Regions from separate parts of the Homo sapiens genome. Here regions 1 and 3 are each linked to region 2. Evidence: promoter capture Hi-C in 16 types of primary human blood cells and fetal thymus (Javierre and others, 2016). All regions are on one chromosome and are shown on one strand. Each heading gives the region's core, a stretch centred on a gene start or on the middle of the fragment in contact. The rest is flanking DNA. Distances are from core to core; before and after follow the strand shown.

Evidence for each region. The method cuts DNA at HindIII sites, captures the fragments that hold promoters and counts their contacts. A CHiCAGO score of 5 or more calls a contact.
Region 1: a contact is called between a fragment that was not itself captured here and the fragment with the promoter of LPCAT4 in region 2, in 1 of 17 cell types (neutrophils). The highest score is 5.1, in neutrophils.
Region 3: a contact is called between a fragment that was not itself captured here and the fragment with the promoter of LPCAT4 in region 2, in 1 of 17 cell types (neutrophils). The highest score is 5.3, in neutrophils.

Annotation. Positions count from the first base shown.
Region 1 is chr15:34,145,958-34,148,657 of GRCh38, forward strand. It overlaps KATNBL1 (katanin regulatory subunit B1 like 1), which reads right to left. Exons shown (of 10, transcript NM_024713.3): 5 at 2,675-2,700; 6 at 1,423-1,473; 7 at 1,243-1,332; 8 at 804-893. Among named protein-coding and RNA genes, the nearest start is that of PGBD4, 45 kb to the left of the region's middle. The HindIII fragment of the contact is 4,046 bases long and covers 1-2,700 here.
Region 2 is chr15:34,365,946-34,368,645 of GRCh38, forward strand. LPCAT4 (lysophosphatidylcholine acyltransferase 4) reads right to left here and starts at 1,251. Exons shown (of 14, transcript NM_153613.3): 1 at 1,042-1,251. The coding sequence starts at 1,155. RefSeq lists silencers at 656-745, 826-875, 996-1,455, 1,586-1,635 and enhancers at 1,411-2,406, 2,006-2,295. The HindIII fragment of the contact is 20,785 bases long and covers 1-2,700 here.
Region 3 is chr15:34,191,720-34,194,419 of GRCh38, forward strand. All of the region lies in intron 1 of KATNBL1 (katanin regulatory subunit B1 like 1), which reads right to left. Among named protein-coding and RNA genes, the nearest start is that of KATNBL1, 17 kb to the right of the region's middle. The HindIII fragment of the contact is 4,650 bases long and covers 1-2,700 here.

The DNA.
Region 1 (2,700 bases), core at 196-2,695, 220 kb before region 2:
TTTTTTTTTGAGACAAGGGCTGGCTCTATTGCCCAGGCTGGAGTGCAGTGGTGCCATCTCGGCTTACTGCAACCTCCACCTCCTGGGCTCAAGCGATCCTCCTGCCTCAGCCTGAGTAGCTGGGACTACAGGCGCACACCACCATGCCTGGCTAATTTTTGTATTTTTTGTAGAGACGGGATGTCATCATGTTGCCCAGGCTGTCTCAAACTTGTGAGCTCAAGTGATTTGCCCTTCTTGGCCTCCCAAAGTGCTGGGATTACAGACAGGCATCAGCCACCGTGCCTGGCCCAAAATTATGGACTTTAAGGAAACTGTTGGGAGATATTTTTCTGTGGTTTCATGATAATCTGGCTATACTCTGGTAGAATACCCACGAATTTTCACATCAAGGCAGTAATAATACAGTTTTTAGAACTGTAAACATCAACACCGGACTCTCAGGTTAATGTCTAGGTAAAGGACCCCGCAGGGTGCCTCCATTCCTTATTACACTGTGGGCATCTCTTTTTCCTCCCTTACTCATAATGAATATGAGAATTAAACCACTATTGTGTTTTTCTTCTAAAATGAAGGGTAGGGTTGTGCCAGAAGAAGAGATACAGGAGGTTAGTAGGCTCTGGAATTCAATTTCCAGGTGTGGTTTTCACAAATGAACAGTCTCTTAAGTTAGTATCTCTCTGAATATAAAAAGAATAAATACCATACACTGATGATAATGGGATAAAATTATTACCTAGTTTAATCAAGCTGCTTTCCTGAAGAAAATTTCAGCATGAGTTTATCTTTAAAGGTATACTCACCCATCATTTATAATTTCTGTTTTGGATGATAGTTCTGACCACCACCTTTTAATGACTGCTTGAAGCCAGTTTAAACCAACTATAACATATCTGAAATGACATTTTGTTACAAAATTCAAGTGTTTTCATCTAAGAACCCTTCTTATAAAAGATGATACTTTCCCTCCCAAAAAACACACACACACATTGGTCCCTTCCCTTTTAAAAAATTGTTACCTTCATGATCTATTACACAAAAGTATATTTCATGTAATTTGTTTAGAGATGCTTTTATAATTGTCCTTTAGTCATTTCATATTCTTTTCCTAATTGTACTATTAGCTTCTTGAAAACAGAAACCTTGCATGTCTCATGGAGCCCAATCTACTATGTACTCACAAAGCACAAAATCAAGGATGCTGAAAAAGAAAAATGAATCAAGATTCAGATTAGCACTTACTCTTCAAATTTGCTTTTAAGTAGTGACTTTACTAGAGGCAACAAGTCAACACAGCAGCCAAGTGAGATATATTGTTTTTCTTCCTGTAAACTAAAATAAATACCAAGTTATAAAAATATGGATGGGCCATAATTTGACCTCCTTTAATCTTATTTTTTTTCTGAAAAATATTGTTTTTACCAATTGGTGAGCACAGGAAGGCAATCTACCACAACGCCAAGATCTTCTATCCTGAGAGTATAAAAAGAATAGCATTGCCTTAGAGAGCTGATTTCCTTATTTACTTTCATATTATGATTATTCACACCGCTTTTGAGAAATTCATTCATTTAACAATGTCAGTATCTACAATGAGTCATGTCTGTGGATACAGCAATGAACAAAGACACAGGGCTTGTATTCCAGTGTGTGAGCAACTGTGGGGGTTGGGGGGTGGGACAGAGACAGGCAATAAACAAATAACAAGACATAAGACATATAGAGCAGGTTGATATAAGTGCTATGGAGAAAAATAAAACAGGAAAGCGAGATAGGGAGTGGAGAAATAGGTATTTTAAAATAAGTTGGTCAAAGAAGGCTTCCCTAAGGTAACATCTGAGAGACTTGAATACAATGAGGAAAGTAATGCTTCAAATTCCCACTCAAAAGGGATGTTTACTTTTTATTTTTAGTAATTTTTTTTTTAAGAAACGGGTCTCATTCGGTTGCCCAGGCTGGAATGTAGTTGCATAATCACAGCTTACTGCAACCTCCAACTCCTGGGTTCAAAGTGATCTTCCCAAGTATCTGGGACCACAAGCACGTACCACTGTGCCTGGCTTATTATTTTTATTTTTTGTAGAGATGGAGTCTTGCTATGTTGCTCAGTCTCTCACTCCTGGGCTCAAGGGACTCTCTCACCTCAACCTTCCCAAATGCTGGGATTATAGGCAAGAACTGCCACACCTGGCCTCAAAAGGGATTTTTAGAAGGTTAGTTTTCCCATATCGTTATCTCTTAGTTTTATAGGTAAGAATGACAGTCAGGAAAGGTAACAGCTTTGTTCAATCTGATAAAACATTGTTTTCTGTATTTTGGTTACTCTTAGATGGGTGAGGAATGTAATTTAAGCCATACTGTCTCTACTGAAGCTACATATAGGCAGTTTAGAATAATGAAGAAGGTTCACCTGAGCTCAGGAGTTCGAGACCAGCCCGGGAAACATAAGACCTCATGTCTTCCAAAAAATTTTTTTAAAAAATAGCCAGGTGTGGTGATGTGCACCTGTACTCTCAGCTACTCAGGAGGCTGAGGTGGGAGGGCTGCTTGAACTCAGCAGGTTGAGGCTGCAGTGAGCCATGATTGTGCCACTGTACTCCAACTTGGATGACAAAGCAAGAACTTGTCTCAGAAAAAAAGTGATTGAACAAAGAGGATAAAAGGTCACACTTACCTCAACAAATAAGCTACAAGTTCACT
Region 2 (2,700 bases), core at 1-2,500:
TTTATAAAACCGAAAGCCATAAAAAGCATCTAGCACTTAGAGGATTTAATAAGAATGCATGCGAAAGTGCAGGGCGCTGTGCTTGATGTACAGTAGGTTAGAGACAGGTCCTCCTCCCCCACATCTTATTCCATAAATAGCTCCTATGCCCAACAGAAACCAGGTGCACAGATCTTTCCACTTTGGGCCTAGGAGGCAGAGGGCTGTAAACAGCCAGAGGTCCAGTTTTCAGACCCGAGGTCATTTTCTGACACTGCTCAACAGCAATCTTAGAGTACCGGGGGATATGGGAGACAAGAGCTCGGCCCCACTCTGCAAGGGAGAGAGGCTGCCAGGAGCCAGGATGACTCCATAGGCTGCCTTGGGGAAGAAGCAGGTAAGCAAACCTAGCCCCTGGAGCCTGCCTCCGGGGAGGTGATGACAGCAGAAACCTTGGACACTCCCTCCCCACACCACCTCCCAGCTCCCCTAGGCTGGCGCGGCCCTCCACTTCCTGTAGCCAACCTCCCTCTCAGCCTCCCTGCCCCCACCGGGAGGTGCTGCAGTGCGGGGTGGAGGGGGGTTGGAGGGAGTGGGAAGAGGGAGTGTAGGAAGGGCACAGGGTCGCAGGCTCCCGGCCCAGAAACGTCTTCCCTCTAAGTCATGCCTCGGAGGAATACTCGGCACGCCCCCGCCCCCGCCCCCACCCCCGGCTTCCCGTAGACTCTAACTCCATCCTAGCCATCAGGCTCTGCAGAATGTAATCCGCATTCCCCAGCGTCCTTCATCTCTCCAACCCCAGGGTCCCCTGCAGCCCTCCATCCCCACCTACTCAGTTTTTCCACATCTTCGAGCTTGTCTATCGCCCAAGCCCGCAGCGTCCTCTCCAGGACTCCTTGCCCAACCGCGGCCGCCCCCACGTGCGCACCCCCGGACTCCCGCTCCGCAAGCCTCTCAGCCATCTCCTTCTCGTGGATCCCCAAGCCCACCTTTGCCAGGGCTCAAATGGCCCCATTTTCCTATCCTCACGGGTCCTTCCGACGCCCGCTCCCCACACATTACCTTAACCCTCTGGAGGCGAGAGAGATGTAACTCATGCACGAAGGGGTTGGGGGATGCTGGGGGTCCGGGGGTGGGATCTAGGGGGGCCCAGTCCCCCGGACTTCCCTGGCTCATGGCGGGAGAAGGTGGGAGGGAGGGCACCCCGGCCCTGGCCCCGGCCACCACTCTGCAGAGCAGCTGCTGCTGCAGCAGCGGCGGCGGCGGCGCTCTGGCCCGGGCCCCGCCCGGTGCAGGCGGCCGAGGGGCGGGGAGCAGGCGGCGCAGCCCAGCCCGCCCGCGTTGTCAGGGCGCCGGCCGAGGGGCGGGGCTTCCAGCGCCCTGGCGCCCCTGCTCCTCCGCGCCCGCCGCGGCGCCCGCAGCCGCTCGGGCCATTGTTCCGCGGCTGCCAGGGCTGGAGCGGGCTGCCCCTGGGCTTCTGCGCCTCCGTCGTTCCTCTCTGAAGACCTGGCCTCCGCCTCGGAGTGGGAGTGGGTCTGGGAGCTGAGCGCAGAGCTCAGAGCGCCCTCTGTCCCCGCCCGGGCGTCGAGGTCACCCAGCAAGCGCAGATCGGGGTGAGGCTCTTGGGTTGGTAGGCAGGGAGGGACAGGTGGGCCGGATGCAGAGGCCGGCAGCTCGCGGGTGAGGCGGCGCCCCGCTCTTCCTATGGGCTCCTTGGCCCGGTCCGCGCCTCCTCGCAGGCGGACCACCTTTCCTTCCCGGTCCGTGGGGCGCCATCGCGCGGGGACTTGAGGCACTTGCGTCCTCTGGCGGCTGCATGGCGCCCCGCAACTCTCCACCTCCGCGTCCTGCCTGTGCTAGGCAGGGCCGCCTTTACTGGTGTGAGGGTTGCTTGAACCCTTGAGGCGCCAGGAATCCCTAGTACACTGACGCATGTGCTTCCCATGAGCCCGACAAGGTCTGGCAGGGGAGAGGCAGTGGTTCCTGATCTCTGTCACTCTCTGGGTGAACGCAGAGGACACAGTAGTAATTCCCCTCACCCACAAGCTCCAAGCTACCCTAGAAAACAAATTGTTTAGCCTCAGGCCATCGTTTGAGATCAGGGACCAGGGAATTAAGTGGACTCTGAGATCCATTGCCATGACAAAAGGGGTAAGAGTCTCATTGCTTGAGGAAAGAATACGCCTTAAGTTCACTTTATGTCTTCTGCCCATTGCATGGCAGTTAGGGGAGCTGAAGGAAGAAAGTGAAAGAAAAAGAGACCTCTCATAACCAAGAGTGTTTGCCGCCACTGGCTTCTCCTTTAAACCAAACTCCAAATTAATCTGCTCCAGGAAATTTTCTGAGCCCAGGCTGAGAGGGTTGAAGGCTCATGCATCCTACTGAGACCAAGGAGCTGCACTGGGATGTTTTTGTATATAACACAGAGGTCCCAACACAAATACATCATTTCCACATTTTATTTTTGTATAGATAGGGTCTCGCTATATTGCCCAGGCTGGTCTCGAACTCCTAGCCTCAAGTGAGCCTCCCACCTCGGCCTTCCAAACTGTTGGGACTACAGGTAGTGAGCCGCCATGTACAACCCAAACCTTTTTTTTTTAAGCAGATGATTTCAGCTTTCTCACCAGAACCGAGAAAGTACAACTGCATGTATTAGTCTCCCTTGCCTTGCCTTTGGGGAGAAGTTTGTGTGTGTGTGTGTGTGTGTGTGTGTGTGTG
Region 3 (2,700 bases), core at 167-2,666, 170 kb before region 2:
GGCGGATCACGAGGTCAGGAGATCAAGACCATCCTGGCTAACACGGTGAAACCCCGTTTCTATTAAAAACACAAAAAATTAGCTGGGCGTGGTGGCGGGCGCCTGTAGTCCCAGCTACTTGAGAGGCTGAGGCAGGAGAATGGAGTGAACCTGGGAGGCAGAGCTTGCAGTGAGCCGAGATTGCACCACTACACTCCAGCCTGGGCCACAGAGCACACAGTGAGACTCCATCTCAAAAAAAAAAAAAAAAAAAATCCATCCTACAGATAAAATGAGATTACATTTAGGATTTGCACAGAATAGGGAGTATCAACGAAGTAAGATATGTTGATAATTGCTGAAGCTGGGTAATTGTAAAGTTTATTATACTATCCTCTCTGCTTTTTTATATGATTAAAAATTCAGTCAGGCGCAGTGGCTCAAGCCTGTAATCCCAGCACTTTTGGAGGCCGAGGCAGGTGGATCACCAGGTCAGGAGATCGAGACCATCCCAGCTAACACGGTGAAACCCTGTCTCTACTAAAAGTACAAAAAATGAGACAGGTGTGGTGGCACGTGCCTGTAATCCCTGCTACTCAGGAGGCTGAAGCAGGAGAATTGCTTGAACCCAGGAGGCAGAGGTTGCAGTGAGCAGAGATGGCGCCACTGCACTCAAGCCTGGGCGACAGAGTGAGACTCCATCTCAAAAAAAAAAAAAAAACAAAAACAATTCCTGTAAGTTACAAGAAATAGGATACCAGACTATTTCAGTGAACAAAGCCAATTCATGGGAGACATACATATTTACGGCAATGCTCTGCAATGATACAGAGAAAATGGCATGTCTCTTGCTTTTAGGCCTAGAGGGTGGTGGTCTCTTCAATGACTGTATACGAAATCGACTTTGTTTCAGTAAGTAATGTGAAAGTCCGGGGAGGGAGAAGAGACAGAAACAAAAACAGACGTGTGTAGAAAGACTACGTGCTGTCCCTCCTTCCCACTCCATACTCCTGGATTTGGGTATAGGGAGAAGGATGCATAGAAGAAGAAAAAATCAGGAATAAATATGGAAAAAATAATCTCTCTCCTTTTAGAATATCCCCCAGCAATCACTGAATGCTTCCACAAAGGTGAACCTGGGAGCTGGGGATCAACAGTATTAAACGTTTTTACTTTATGTCCTCTTTATACCAAATTTTGCATCTCATAAGTATTACTTTAAAAATAACTTAAGGCTTGCCGGGCGCGGTGGCTCACGCCTGTAATCCCAGCACTTTGGGAGGCAGAGGCGGGCGGATCATGAGGTCAGGAGATCGAGACCATCCTGGCTAACACAGTGAAACCCCGCCTCTATTAAAAATACAAAAAATTAGCCGGGCGTAGTGGCGGGCGCCTGTGGTCCCAGCTACTCGGGAGGCTGAGGCAGGAGAATGGCGTCAACCCGGGAGGCGGAGCTTGCAGTGAACCGAGATCGCGCCACTGCACTCCAGCCTGGGCGACAGAGCGAGACTCCGTCTCAAAAAAAAAAAAAAAAAAACAAAAAAAAAACTTAAGGCCAGATGCAGTGGATCATGCCTGTAATCCCAGCACTTTGGGAGGCTGAGGCAGGCATATCACTTGAGGCCAGGAGTTTGAAACCAGCCTGGCCAATATGGCAAAATCCCATCTCTACTAAAAATACAAAAATTAGGCAGGCGTGGTGGCATACGTCTGTAATCTCAGCTATTCAGGAGGCTGAGACACAAGAATCGCCTGAACCTGGGATGCGGAGGTTGCAGTGAACAGAGATGGCGCCACTGCACTCCAGCCTGGGAAACAGAGCAAGACTCTTGTCTCAAAAAATAAATTAATTAATTAAAATATCACCAGTAGGCTGGGCATGATAACTCATTCCTGTAATCCTAGCAATTTGGGAGACAAATGCAGTTGGGTCGCTTGAGCCCAGGAGTTTGAGACCTGCCTGGGCAACGTGGTGAAACCCTGTCTCTACAAAACATACAAAAATTAGCCGGGCATAGTGGTGCACACCAGTAGTCCCAGCTACTCAGGACGCTGAGGCAGGAGGGTCGCTTGAGCCCAGGAGGTTGAGGCTGCAGTGAGCCAAAATTGCACCACTGTACTCCAGCGTGGGTGACAGAGAAAGGCCCTGTCTCAAAAAAAAAAAAAAAAAAAAAAAAAAAAATCACCAGCAAAATCACCAGTAATTCAACCACTTTTCCTCCCATGCAGTTTAGTTTTTCTTTGTCGTTTTTTATTTTTTTGAGATGGAGTCTTGCTCTGTTGCCCAGACTGGAATGCAGTGGCACGATCTCGGCTCACCACAACGTCCGCCTCCTGGCTTCAAGCGATTCTTCTGCCTTGGCCTCCCGAGCAGCTGGGACTACAGGTGCACGCCACCATGCCTGGCTTATTTTTGTATTTTTAGTAGAGACGGGGTTTCTCCATATTGGCCAGGCTGGTCTCGAACTCCTGTCCTCATGATCCACCTGCCTTGGGCTCACAAAGTGGTGGGATTATAGGCGTGAGCCACTGCACCCAGCCTGCAGTTTAGTTTTATATGCTGCATTTTGTCATTAATATTATATTTTCCTACATGTTAAAAGATTTTTTTTTGAAAATATGATTTAGGGCCAGGTGCAGTGGGTCATACCTGTAATTCTAGCACTTTGAAAGGCCAAGGCGGGAGTAGCACTTGAGCCCATGAGTTTGAGGCCAGCCTGG